Linked DNA regions of Homo sapiens: region 1 is linked to region 2. The links are contacts of gene promoters, found by promoter capture Hi-C in human tissues and cell types (Jung and others, 2019). All regions are on one chromosome and are shown on one strand. Each heading gives the region's core, a stretch centred on a gene start or on the middle of the fragment in contact. The rest is flanking DNA. Distances are from core to core; before and after follow the strand shown.

Region 1 (6,453 bases), core at 3,894-6,393, 170 kb before region 2:
CTACAGGCATGTGCCACCATGTCCAGCTAATTTTTACATTTATTATTTTTTAAAGTCTTATTTTTTACCCGTAATACTAAGGATATAAGTGGTCCCCCTGCCATTACAGTATCAGAATGTTCTGAATTTTACTATATACTTACTTTTACCAGTGAGTTTTGTACTTTTAGATGTTTTCATGTTACTCATTAGCATCCTTTCATTTCAGCTTGAAGAACTCTCTTTAACATTTTTTGTAAGGCAGGCCTAGTAGTGATGAACTTCCTCAACTTTTGTTTGTTTGGGTAAGTTTTTATTTTTCCTTCATTTCTGAAGGACAGCTTTGCTCGGTACACTATTGTCAGTTGACAGGGTGTTTTTTTCCTTTAGTACTTTGAATATATCATCCTACTCTCTCCTGGCCTACCAGGTTTCTGCTGAGAAGTCCGCTGCTAAGTGTATTGCAAAAGTCCCTTTTATGTTGTTACTTTCTCTTGCTGATTTCAGCATCCTGTCTTTGACATTTACCTTTGACAATTTTATCATAATATGTCTTAGGGTGGTCTTATTAGGATTAAATTTGATTGGTGGCCTATGACTTTCTCGTACCTGGATAATTGTATCTTTCTCTAGGTTTGGAAAGTTTTCTGCTATTATTTCTTTAAATAAGCTTTTTACTCCTTTATCTTTCTCTACTTCCCCTTGAATTCCAATGACCCATACATTAGCTCTTTTGATGTTATCCTATAAATCCCATAAGCTTTCTTCATTCCTTTTCATTATTTTTTCTTGTTTCTCCTATGACAGTATATTTTCTGAAGTGGTGGCCTGCCCCTCCACAACCTGTGGGTGTTTCTCCTCAAGTGGGACGAGAGACTGAGAAAAGAAATACGACACAGAGACAAAGTATAGAGAAAGAAAAGTGGGCCCAGGGGACCGGCGCTCAGCATACGGAGGACCTGCACCGGCACTGGTCTCTGAGTTCCCTCAGTATTTATTGATTACTATCTCTGCCATCTCAGAGATGGGGATATGGCAGGATATAGGGTAATGGTGGGGAGAGGGTCAGCAGGAAAACATGTGAGCAAAGATCTCTGTGTCATAAATAAGTTTAAGGAAAGGTGCTGTGCCTTGATGTTCACATAGGCCAGATTTCTGTTTGACTTTACACAAACATCTTGGTGCATTAAAGAGCAGTATTGCCGCCAGCATGTCTCACCTCCAGCCAGAAGACAGTTTTCTCCTATCTCAGTAAATCGGGTTTTACACCAAGATATTCCATTCCCAGGGAGGAGCAGGAGACAGATGCCTTCCTCTTATCTCAACTGCAAAGAGGCCTTCCTCTTTTACTAATCCTCCTCAGCACAGACCCTTTATGGGTGGCGGGCTGGGGGACATTCAGGTCTTTCCCTTCCCACGAGGCCATATCTCAGGCTATCACATGGGGAGAAACCCTGGACAATACCTGGCTTTCCTAGGCAGAGGTCCCTGCGGCCTTCCGCAGTGTATTGTGTCCCTGGGTACTCGAGATTAGAGAACGGTAATTACTTTTACCAAGCATACTGCCTTTAAGCACTTTTTTAACAAAGCATATCCTGCACAGCCCTAAATCCATTACACCTTGAGTCAACACAGCACAATTATCTGCAAGCACAGGGTTGGGGCTAGGGTTACAGATTAACAGCATCTCAAGGCAGAAGAATTTCTCCTAGTACAGAACAAAATAGAGTCTCTTAAGTTTACTTTTTTCTACATAGACACAGTAACAGTCTGATCTCTCTTTTCCCATTTTCAAATAACCTATCTTCAAGTTCACAGATTCTTTCCTCTGCTTAATTCTGCTATTGATGCTCTCTACTAATATTTTTTAATACTCATTGTATTTTTTAGCTCCTAGATTTCTGGGTTTTTTTTAATTGCAATATCTCTGTTAAATTTCTCTGGTAAATTTTTGAATTGTTTCTCTGTGTTTTCTTGAAGTTCCCTTTAGGGTCAGTCACTGGCATCTTATTTTGTTTGGTGAGGTCAAATTTCCCTGCTTATTCTGGATGCTTGCAGATGTGCGTCAATGTCTGTGTATTAGGTATTTATTCTAGTCTTTGCATTCTGGCTTTGTTTGTGCCTGTTTTACTTCAATAGGCCTGTCTAGAAGTTCTAAGCAGCCTGACTTGTGATTCCTAAGCCTGTGGCTGTTGCAGCCACTTCAGCACTAGAGGGGGCCCTAAGCCCAGGTTCATCACAAGTTTTGCAAGGGCTTTGAGGCTGACACAGCACCCAAGCCAGGATGGACCTGAGGAAGATTGAAGGAAGGTACCTAGGCTGTATAGATAAGCTAGCCAGGGACCCAAGCCCAGAAGACTGTCCCAGTGGCCTGGACAGACACCCCTCCCAGCAGTTCCCTGCACAGGCAGGACAATCCCCACATGTGGAAAGAGGGGCTGGAGCTGAGACTGGGCCCCCTCAAGGGCCCCCATGGAACAGAGGTCAGCAAACCCATCCCATTGGCTTAGGTGGGTGTGGGGCCAGACTTGAGACTGGGTCTCAGAATCTGCTGTTGGACAGAGACTGGAAAGCCCATTGCAGAGGCTCAGATGAATGGGTAACTCCTGTGAGATATGGGCAACTTTCCCTTTGGGAAGCAATTTCCCAGCAAGTAGTACTAAGCTGGGACCACAGCTGAGGAGGGGTGGAGACGAGCCACAAGGCAACTTTCAGGTCCAAGCTGCGAAGACCAACGTCAGCAGGCAGATGAGCCTTCCCTGCTGAGGCACTGGTGTGCATGATTCTTCCTGAACCCCCTGGCAGATGGTTTTGGTGGTAGCCTCAAGGCCAGTAGGGGCTGTTGCCAAGCCCCTTGGGGAATGAGGCCATTTCCCCAGGCTTGAATCTGGGAGCACAGTTGATGGGTCTGCCAACAGGGTATGGGTCTGCACTCTCAAAATCACCCTCCTAGGTCTTAGGCTCCATTGGGCTTCCACAACTTTCTACCTGAATCGTGAGGCTTCCACAAAGAGACTTTTTTGTCTGGATGGGTGAAGAATTCTTATTGTTGGGGGATAAAAGCAGGTGACCTCCTATACCACCATCTTGCTGACATCATTCCAACCCTAGAATCTATTTATCTGTCCAGAAAATTTGCCATGATTAAAAGGTCTGTTGTTCTTCTTCAAGTAGGCTGTGGTGGTTCTATAAAATATGTCCACAAATTCTTTGAAACTCCTCCCTTTACACAGTGGAGCCTAATTCCTCTCCCTTTGAATATGGGTTGTACCTAGTAACTTATTTCTAGTACATAGAATGTGGCAGAAGTGACAGTGTGTGACTTCTGAGGGTGGGTCATAAAAGATATTGTGGCTTTAGCTTCTACCTCAGATTACTCACTGTAAAAGAAGCTACCATGTCCTGAGGACAATCAAGAAGCCCTATGGAGATGCTAATGTAGTAAGGAACTGAGATCTCCTATGAACAGCCAGAGAGGAACTGACACCTCTTGCTAACAGCCATGTAAGTGAACCATCTTGAGGACAGATTCTCCACTGCTAGTCAAGACTTCAGGTGTCTGGAGCCCCAGCCAACATTCAGACTGCAATCTCCTGAAACACTCTGAGCCAGAACCACCTAGCTAAGCTGCTCCCAGTTCCTGACCCCCAAAATCTTTGTGAGATAATAACTTATTTTTGTTTTAAGTGCTTGTATTAGTCCATTTTCACACTCCTATAAAGAACTGCCCGGGACTGGGTAATTTACAAAGGAAAGAGGTTCAATTGACTCACAGTTCTGCATGGCTGGGGAGGCCTCAGGAAACTTACAATCATGGCGGAAGGTGAAGGGGAAGCAACGCACCTCCTTCACAAGGTGGTGGGACGCAGAATGAATGCAGGAGGAACTACCAAACACATAAAACCATCAGATCTTGTGAGAACTCACTTATTATGATGAGAACAGCATGAGGGAAACCACCCCCATTATTCAATTACCTCCAGCTGTTCTCTCCCTTGACATATGGGGATTATGGGGATTAAAATTCAAGATGAGATTTTGGGTGGGGATACAACCAAACCATATCACTGCTAAATTTTAGGGTAGTTTTGTATGCAGCAATATATAACTAACAGCATGTTAGTGAACATAGCCCCAGTTGTCTTGGGAGTTACTGAAATGAACACAGAAACCATTGACATAGTTCACCTAGTGACATCTTCATTATTCATCTCTAAGCAGCACATAAAACACAAACTTAAACCTTAAAATTTTTTCTCATTATACTACCAGAAATCATTTTTTATACCCCAATGACTCATACATACCACATACATACCATAGGCTAAAAAATGGCTCCCCAAATATTTCCATGTCCTAATTCCAAGAACCTGTGAATATATTATTTTACATGGTAAAAGGGATTTGGTAGATATGATTAAATTAAGAATCCTGAGATGGGGAGATTATCCTGTATTATCTGGGTGCACACAATGTTATCACAGGATCTTTATAACAAAGGAGCAGGAGAATTGAAGAGAAAAGTATGATAACAAAAGCAGAGAGAGAAAGAGTTTGGAAGATTTATGCTGCTGACTTTGAAAATGGAGGATAGGGCTACAAGCCAAGAAATGCAAGTAACCTCTGGAAGCTAAAAACAAACAACAAAAAACAAATTCTCCCCTAGTGGCCTCAAGGAAGAAATGTAGTTCTGTAACCCATTTTAAAATTCCGACCTATAGAAATATAATTTTGTTACAGAAACAACAACAACCTAACACCTCATTTTATTATACTTCACAGATAATTGTGTTTTTTACAAATCGAAAAATTTTGGCAACCTTACATTGAGCAGGTCTATCAGCACCATTTTCCCAACAGCATGTGTTCACTTCACGTCTCTGTCTCACATTTTGGTAATTCTCACAATATTTCAAACTTTTTATTACATCTATTATAGTGATATGTGTTCAGTCATCTTTAATGTTACTATTTTAATTGTTTTGGGGCACCAGGAACTGCACCCTTATAAGACGGTGAACTTACTAAGTGTTGTGTGTGTTCCACTGACTAGCTGTTCCCTCATCTTTCTCCCTCTCTTTGGGCCTCCCTATTCCCTGCGACACAACTATATTGAAATTAGGCCAATTAATAACCTCACAATCACCTTTAAGTGTTCAAGTGAAAGAAAGAGTCACACATCTCTCACTTTAAATCAAAAGCTAGAAATGATTAAGCTTAGTGAGGAAGGCATGTCAAAAGCAAGATGGGCCAAAAACTAGGCCTTTGGGCCAAGAAGCTAGCCAAGTTGTGAATGCAAAGGAAAAGCTCTTGAAAGGATTTAAAAATGCTACTCCAGTGAACATACAAATGGTAGGAAAGTAAAACAGCATTATTGCTGTTATGGAGAAACTTTCAGTGGTCTGGATAAAAGATCAAACTAGCCACAACATTCCCTTAAGCCAGATCCTAATCCAGACACCCTAACTCTCTCAATTCTATGAAGGTGGAGAGAGGTGAGGAAGCTGCAGAAGAAAAGTTTGGAGCTAGCAGAGCTTGGTTCATGAGGTTTAAGGAAAGAAGCCACCTCCATAACATAAAAGTACACAGTAAAGCAGCAAGTGCTTGATGTAGAAGCTCCAGCAAGTCATCCAGAAGATCTAGCTTCATCATTGATGAAGGTGGCTACATCAACAGATTTTCAATGCAGACAAAATGGCCTTATATTATTGGAAGAAGATACCATCTAGGACTTTCAATGCCTAGGTTCAAAGCTTCAAAGGGCAGGCTGACTCCCTTGTCAGGGGCTAGTGCAGCTGGTGACTTTAAGTTGAAGTCAATGCTTATTTGTCCTTCTAAAAAATCTTAGGTTCCTTAAGAATTATGCTAAATCTACCCGGCCTCTGCTCTGTAAATGAAACAATAAAGCCTGGATAGCAACAGCACATCCATTTACAGCGTGATTTACTGAATATTTAAAGCCCACTGCTGAAACCTACTACTCAAAAAAAAAAAAAAAAAAAAAAACTGGTTTATTTTAAAATACTACTGCTCATTGACAATGCAGCTGGTCACCCAAGAACTCTGATGGAGATGTACAAGATTAATCGTTTTCAGGCCTGCTAACACAACATCCATTCTGCAGCCCACACAGCAATTTCAACTTTCAAGTCTTATTATTTCAGAAATACATTTTGTAAGGCTATAGCTGTCATAGATAATGATTCCTTTGATGGATCTGGGCAAAAGAAATTGAAAACCTTCTGGATACTTCTGGATGACTAGATAAAGGAAAACAAAACAAAACAAAAAAACCTGGAAAGGATTTACCATCCTAAATGCCATTAAGAACATTTGTGAAGCCAGGTACAGGCAGCGTGGCGAAGCCCTGTCCCTACAAAAAATACAAAAATTAGCCGGGCATGATGGTGCCCGCCTATAGCCCCAGCTACTTGGGAGGCTGAGATGGGAGAATGGCTTGAGCCCAGGAGGTGG
Region 2 (5,953 bases), core at 510-3,009:
GTCTTTGGAAAAGTAACAGTCAGTTCACTCCTATAACACTAGTTAGTTCATGCTGCACAGAAGCTTAGGTTATCAGTTATCTACTAACTGAAATAGGAAGACAAATTGTTCATAGTCAGTATAGTTGGTTTACTGACAATGTATCTGAGTATGTAAATGTGAATTCATGGGAAAAATAATATAAGGTGTCCTTGGTGATGAAGAGCTGAATTTGTTTTCTTTTCTTTTTTTTTTTTTTTGAGACAGAGTCTCACTGTGTTACCAGGTTGGAATGCAGTGGCGCGATCTCGGCTCACTGCAACCTCTGCCTCTTGGGTTCAAGTAATTCTCCTGCCTCAGCCTCCCGAGTAGCTGGGACCACAGGCGCCTGCCACCACGCCCAGCTAATTTTTTGTATTTTTAGTAGAGACGAGGTTTCACCGTGTTAACCAGGATGGTCTCGATCTCCTGACCTCGTGATCTGCCCGCCTCGGCCTCCCAAAAAAATTACAGGCATGAGCCACCGCGCCCGGCCTCTTTTTTTTTTTTTTTTTGAGATGGAGTCTTGCTGTGTTGCCAGGCTGGAATGCAGTGACGCAATCTTGGCTCACTGCAACCTCTGCCTCCTGGGTTCAAGTAATTCTCCTGCCTCAGCCTCCTGGTAGCTGGGACTACAGGTGCGCACCATCATGCCCAGCTAATTTTTGTATTTTTAGTAGAGACAGGGTTTCACCATGTTGGCCAGGATGGTCTCGATCTCTTGACCTCATGATCCACCCGCCTTGGCCTCCCAAAGTGCTGGGGTTACAGCTGTGAGCCACCGCGCCTGGCCTGGATTTGTTTTCTATTCCCTTTCAGAAGGCACGAGTCTTCTCTTCAGTCTTCTCATGGCTGACTTCATTTCCTGGTTCCTCAGAGTGTAGATCAAAGGGTTCAGCAGAGGGGAGATGACAGTGAAGGTGACAGAGATGGCCTTTTCTGTGGGGAGGGCAGTGAAGGGCCGGGCATAGACATAGATGCAGGGCACAAAATGCAGGGTCACCACAGTGATGTGGGAGGTGCAAGTGGAGATGGCTTTCCTCCTGCCCCCTCCTGCCTGAGACCTCAGCGTCATTAGGATGACTGTGTAGGACACAAGCAGGAAGATAAACCACAGGGTAGTGACCAGGCCATTGTTGGAAATCATCAAGAACTCAAGAGCAAAAGTGTCAGTGCAAGTGAGTTTGAGGACCTGGGGGACATCGCAGTAGAAAGTGTCAAGAACATTGGGTCCACAGAAAGGGAGAGGCAGCAACAGGGAGATCTGCACGATGGAGTGGACAAAGCCCCCCATCCAAGAGGCAGAGATGAGGGCAGTGCATTGCCCTCTACTCATGATGGTCACATAGTGCAGGGGCTTGGAGATGGCCATGTAGCAGTCAAACGCCATCACAGAGAGAGAAAAAATGTCTGCCCCACCAAGGAGGTGGAAGAGAAATATCTGTGTCATGCAGCTTGTATAGGATATGGTCTTTTTCTTTGACAGAAGGTCCAGCAAGACTTTAGGAGCAGTTGTGGAGGAGAAGCAGATGTCAAGGATGGCTAGATTGCGGAGCAGGAAGTACATGGGGGTGTGAAGGCGAGACTCACAGGTCACGGTGACCATGATGAGGAGGTTTCCCAGCAGAGTCGTCATGTACACAAGACATAAAAAAAGAAACAAGACCAAACTCTGGTCTTGGGATTGAGTAAGTCCCAGAAATATAAATTCTTTTACTCTGGTGACATTTCCCAACTCCATTGAATCATGTTTTCTCTTTCCTGAATATCTTGGAAAAAATAATGTTATTTCAGAAAGTGTTTACTCTCTCTTAACAGATTCAAGTATTAGGTCTGAAAACTTGTGAGATATTACAATTTCAAGTTTATTGCCAATGCATGTAAAATGACATCTTATTATACAATCATGCATACACTTATATAAATTACAATTTTAAAAAATGTATAAAAATAATGTTGCAGTTATTCAAGATACTTAGGACATTATTCAAGATAAACAGAGGGGGATATTAATTATTTAGAAAGAGACTATTGTGGCATGGGAAATATAAAAATGGGATTAGTTTGTTGTGAGAATAAGGCAGTGCTTACTTTGTGTGACTAGAACACCTTGAGTTTCACAGGGCTGAGGATTTTGTTGTTTTTTCCCAGACTGGATGCTCCATTTAAATGGTTCTAAGAACCCCTGTCTGCAAAGAGGCCCCCCACTGGATTGAATTGTATGGAAGCAGCACCCCTCTCTTCTTAAATCACAAACTTATTTCCATGAAAAATTAGAAAATGTTTAAGCCATAAAATTTGTTTCTATTGCTCTATTCTTCTTTAAGGGGACTGCTTTGTTTCTTTCTTTACTTTAATCTACTTTAGGTACTGAAACCCCGGGGTGGTGAATAGCTCCTTAGCAATGGAAATAAAAATATTACTCAGAGCTTCTCTTCTGTTGTTTCAATTTCTTTCTTAAAAAATAATTTTTGTTGAGCTATCATTGACATACCATAGACTGCACATATTTGAATTCACACTTCGATAATGTTTTTTTTTTTTTTTGAGACAGAGTCTTACTCTGTCGCCCAGGCTGGAGTGCAGTGGCGTGATCTCGGCTCACTGCAACCTCTGCCTCCCAGGTTCAAGTGATTCTCCCACCTCAGCCTCCTGAGTGGCTGGGATTAAAGGCGTGTGCCGCCACGCCTGGCTAATTTTTGTATTTTCAGTAAAGACAGGGTTTCACCATATTGGCCCAGCTGGTCTCGAAATCCTGACCTTGTGATCCACCCACCTCGGCCTCCCAAAGTGCTGGGATTACAGGCATGAGCCACTGCTCCCGGCTGATAAGTTTTGACATATATACCTGTGACACCATCTCTATAGTTAAGAGAGTGAATATATCTATCACCCAGAAAATGTCCTTGTGCCCCTTTGTAGCCTGTCCCCTTTACCCTTCCTTCTTCAGGCAACAACTGATCTGCTTTCTGTCATTATACATTAGTTTGTATTTTCTATAATATTCTATAAGTGAAATTCTACTATTTGTATTTTCTTCTTGTCTGCCTTCTTTCAACCATGAAATTCATCCGTTGTTTTGTGTGTACTGCTATTTTGTTCCTTTCTATTGTATGAATATACCACAGTTTGCTTATCCACTCACTTGTAGGTGAACATTTGGGTTATTTGTGGCTTCTGAATATTACTCATAAAGCTGCTATGAACATTCACATTTGGGTCTTTGTGTGGACATATGTTTTCAGTTCTCTTGGGTAAGTAGCTAGGAGTGGAATGGCTGTAACTCTTAACATTCAATAGTATGAGAACAAACAACCAATTAAGCAACAAGGACAAATTATTTTAACAAAATGAAGTCACTAAAAGAAGTTAAAAAAAAAGAAGAGAAAAAAGGACAAATTATTTGAACAGACACTTCAGCAAGAAGACACAGAGAGAGCAAATAAGCACATGAAAAGGCTCAACATCATTTATCACTGAGAAAATATAAATTGAAACCACGTTGTAATTTAAAAATAGTATACATTAGAGTCACTGGAATGAAAAAGATTGATATATCAAGAGTGGACAAAGATGTAGACCAATGGAACTCCAGTAGGAATGTAAAATGGTACAATCAATTTGAAAATATTTTGGCAGTTTTTTTTTTTTTTAGATGGAGTCTTGCTCTGTCACCCAGGCTGGAGTGCAGTGGCACAATCTTGGCTCACAGCAACCTCTGCCTCCCAGGTTCAAGCGATTCTCCCACCTCAGCCTCCTGAGTAGCTGGGATTACAGGCTCCCACCACCATGCCCAGCTAATTTTTGTATTTTTAATAGAGGCAGGGTTTCACCATGTTGGCCAGGCTGGTCTTGAAATCCTGACCTCAGGTAATCCATCCGCCTTGACCTCCCAAAGTGCTGGGATTACAGGCATGAGCCACCGCGCCTGGCTGGCAATTTTTTAAAAAACTGTTACACATACACTTACCTTATAACTGTGTTGCTTTTGAATTCCTTTCTTTCTTTCTTTCTTTTTTTTTTTGGTAAATCTTTGTAATGGGCCTTATTTTCTTTCTTCCTAGTTTATCTCCTTTTTCTTTCCATAATTAGAAACAAATGAAGGGCAAAAGTCCCTTTTTTCCCGTTCTTTGGGTGTGTTCTCCAATTTAAATGAAGATATTTCTTCTCACTTAGCTCGCTTTGTCTTCAAGTTTTCTTTCCTCTCTAGGCAATTTTGTCCAAAATCTATTTAATGGGTAAATCCGAAAACAAGCTGCCAAGAAGTATTCTACCTTCGAGGTAGATGCCTACTAGACTCTGGCACCACGCAGCCTGTTCAAATCCCAGCTGAGTACTTACTGGTTGTGCTAACATGAGCAAATTGCTTCATCCCTTGACCTCATTCTCTATATCAGTAATTTGGAGACAATAGCATCTCCTTCATTAGACTTTTGTGAGGGTTAAATAAGTTAATCTATGTAGAGCATCAGTACTTAGAGCGTTGCCTAATCTGTAATAAGTGTAATTATATGTGTGCTACCTTAAAGACAACTCCAGGTTAATAATTCCCACACACAGCTTCTTCAATAAATATATCTCCAATATATTTATGGACATTCTTTTAGAGGAGCTGCATGTTTCCCACACGTGTGTCCTCAACCACTTCATCAGAACATTTGCTGTTTTGAAGGAATTAGGAGATATTTGCCTTCCAGTGACCCAGAGAGTCGTGACAGTGTATGACAGTAAAAAGAGCACTTGCTTGGTTTGGCTTCTTCTCTGACATCTTATTAGCAGACCAGAGAAATTGTTCAGTGCAAGGGCTCTGGGATCAAGACTCATCTGGGTTCAAGTCCTGGCTTTGCCACTGTGTGATTTGGGCAAGTGCATAACCTCATTGAGCCTCTATTTTTTCATCTGTAGGATGGGGATAATAATAATACTCACCTCACAGGGAAGTTAAGAGGGTTGGAGAATTAACTTGTGTACTCTTCTCAGCATATGGGCTGGTTATCTGTCGTGATTAGTGCTATGCTGGGTAACCCTAACAGTGAAGCCTCATCAGTAAATGGAGTGTATTGAACTAAATGGTAGTTATCAATCCTGATTAGCTTAAAGAGAGAGGAAATGGTCACTAGGAACACCAACTCAGTATGGTTACTAGAGATGTGAAGAAAACCAATTTAGTTATTAAGCTCTTCAAAGGGACCCCCATGTAAACAGCACATTGTTTACACACACATGGGTGGAAGGTAAACCATATCCCAGACCCCAGGCCAGGACTATTGGTCTGAAAGAAATAGGTCTCATGTTCACAAACTGCCTTTGGTAATTTAAAGACAACATCCCCTAGCTTCTGCTCCACCCTTCTGCTACTTTTAATCTATCCAATTATTTAGCAAATATTGATGGAGTATGGGAAGAGTTCTAGGTTATTTGAGAGAAAGGAATATAATCTAAATACAGTGGGAAAAGCATTGAAATCTAATAGTTACATGGGAGTGATGGGGACAATTTAAGGACAGATGAAGAGCTGAGTGTGAAAAGAGGATGATTTCCAAATAAGAGGCTCAGTGAAGCTGTATGGAGGAAGTGGTGTTTACATTTGGGACATATAGGAACGGGGAGAAAGGACATTCTGGCCTTACAGGACTATTTAAATATATGAAAGTTGCTAATGAGTGGGAAGTTTGACTGGAAAGAAAGGGTGCAAACATGACAGCATGGAAAGACAGAGAAAAGAAAATCATTGCTATCATAAGGTTTCAGAAAACAATACCCTATAATGAAGGCCTCAGAAGTAGCCTCAGAAGTAAAAGTTTTTCTCTGACCTCCTCCTGCCTTCCTGTGTCAGGTGGCTGGTACTTCATTCTTCCCCAAGGTTAGCTGTAGAAACTACAATATCTCTTCCCTAAGGCGGGTCATGGAAACCAGAACCCCTTTTCTCCAAAGC

What was found. Contacts are between HindIII fragments. The study calls those that stand out against the background at their distance.
Region 1: a fragment that was not itself captured here is called in contact with the fragment with the promoter of OR4D11 in region 2 in 1 of the 25 tissues and cell types used here (adrenal gland).

The regions. Positions count from the first base shown.
Region 1 is chr11:59,676,479-59,682,931 of GRCh38, reverse strand. No RefSeq gene overlaps it. Among named protein-coding and RNA genes, the nearest start is that of PATL1-DT, 10 kb to the right of the region's middle. RefSeq lists an enhancer at 2,054-2,554. The HindIII fragment of the contact is 4,352 bases long and covers 2,968-6,453 here.
Region 2 is chr11:59,499,382-59,505,334 of GRCh38, reverse strand. OR4D11 (olfactory receptor family 4 subfamily D member 11) reads right to left here and starts at 1,759. Exons shown (of 1, transcript NM_001004706.1): 1 at 824-1,759. The coding sequence starts at 1,759. The coding sequence ends at 824. The HindIII fragment of the contact is 13,495 bases long and covers 1-5,953 here.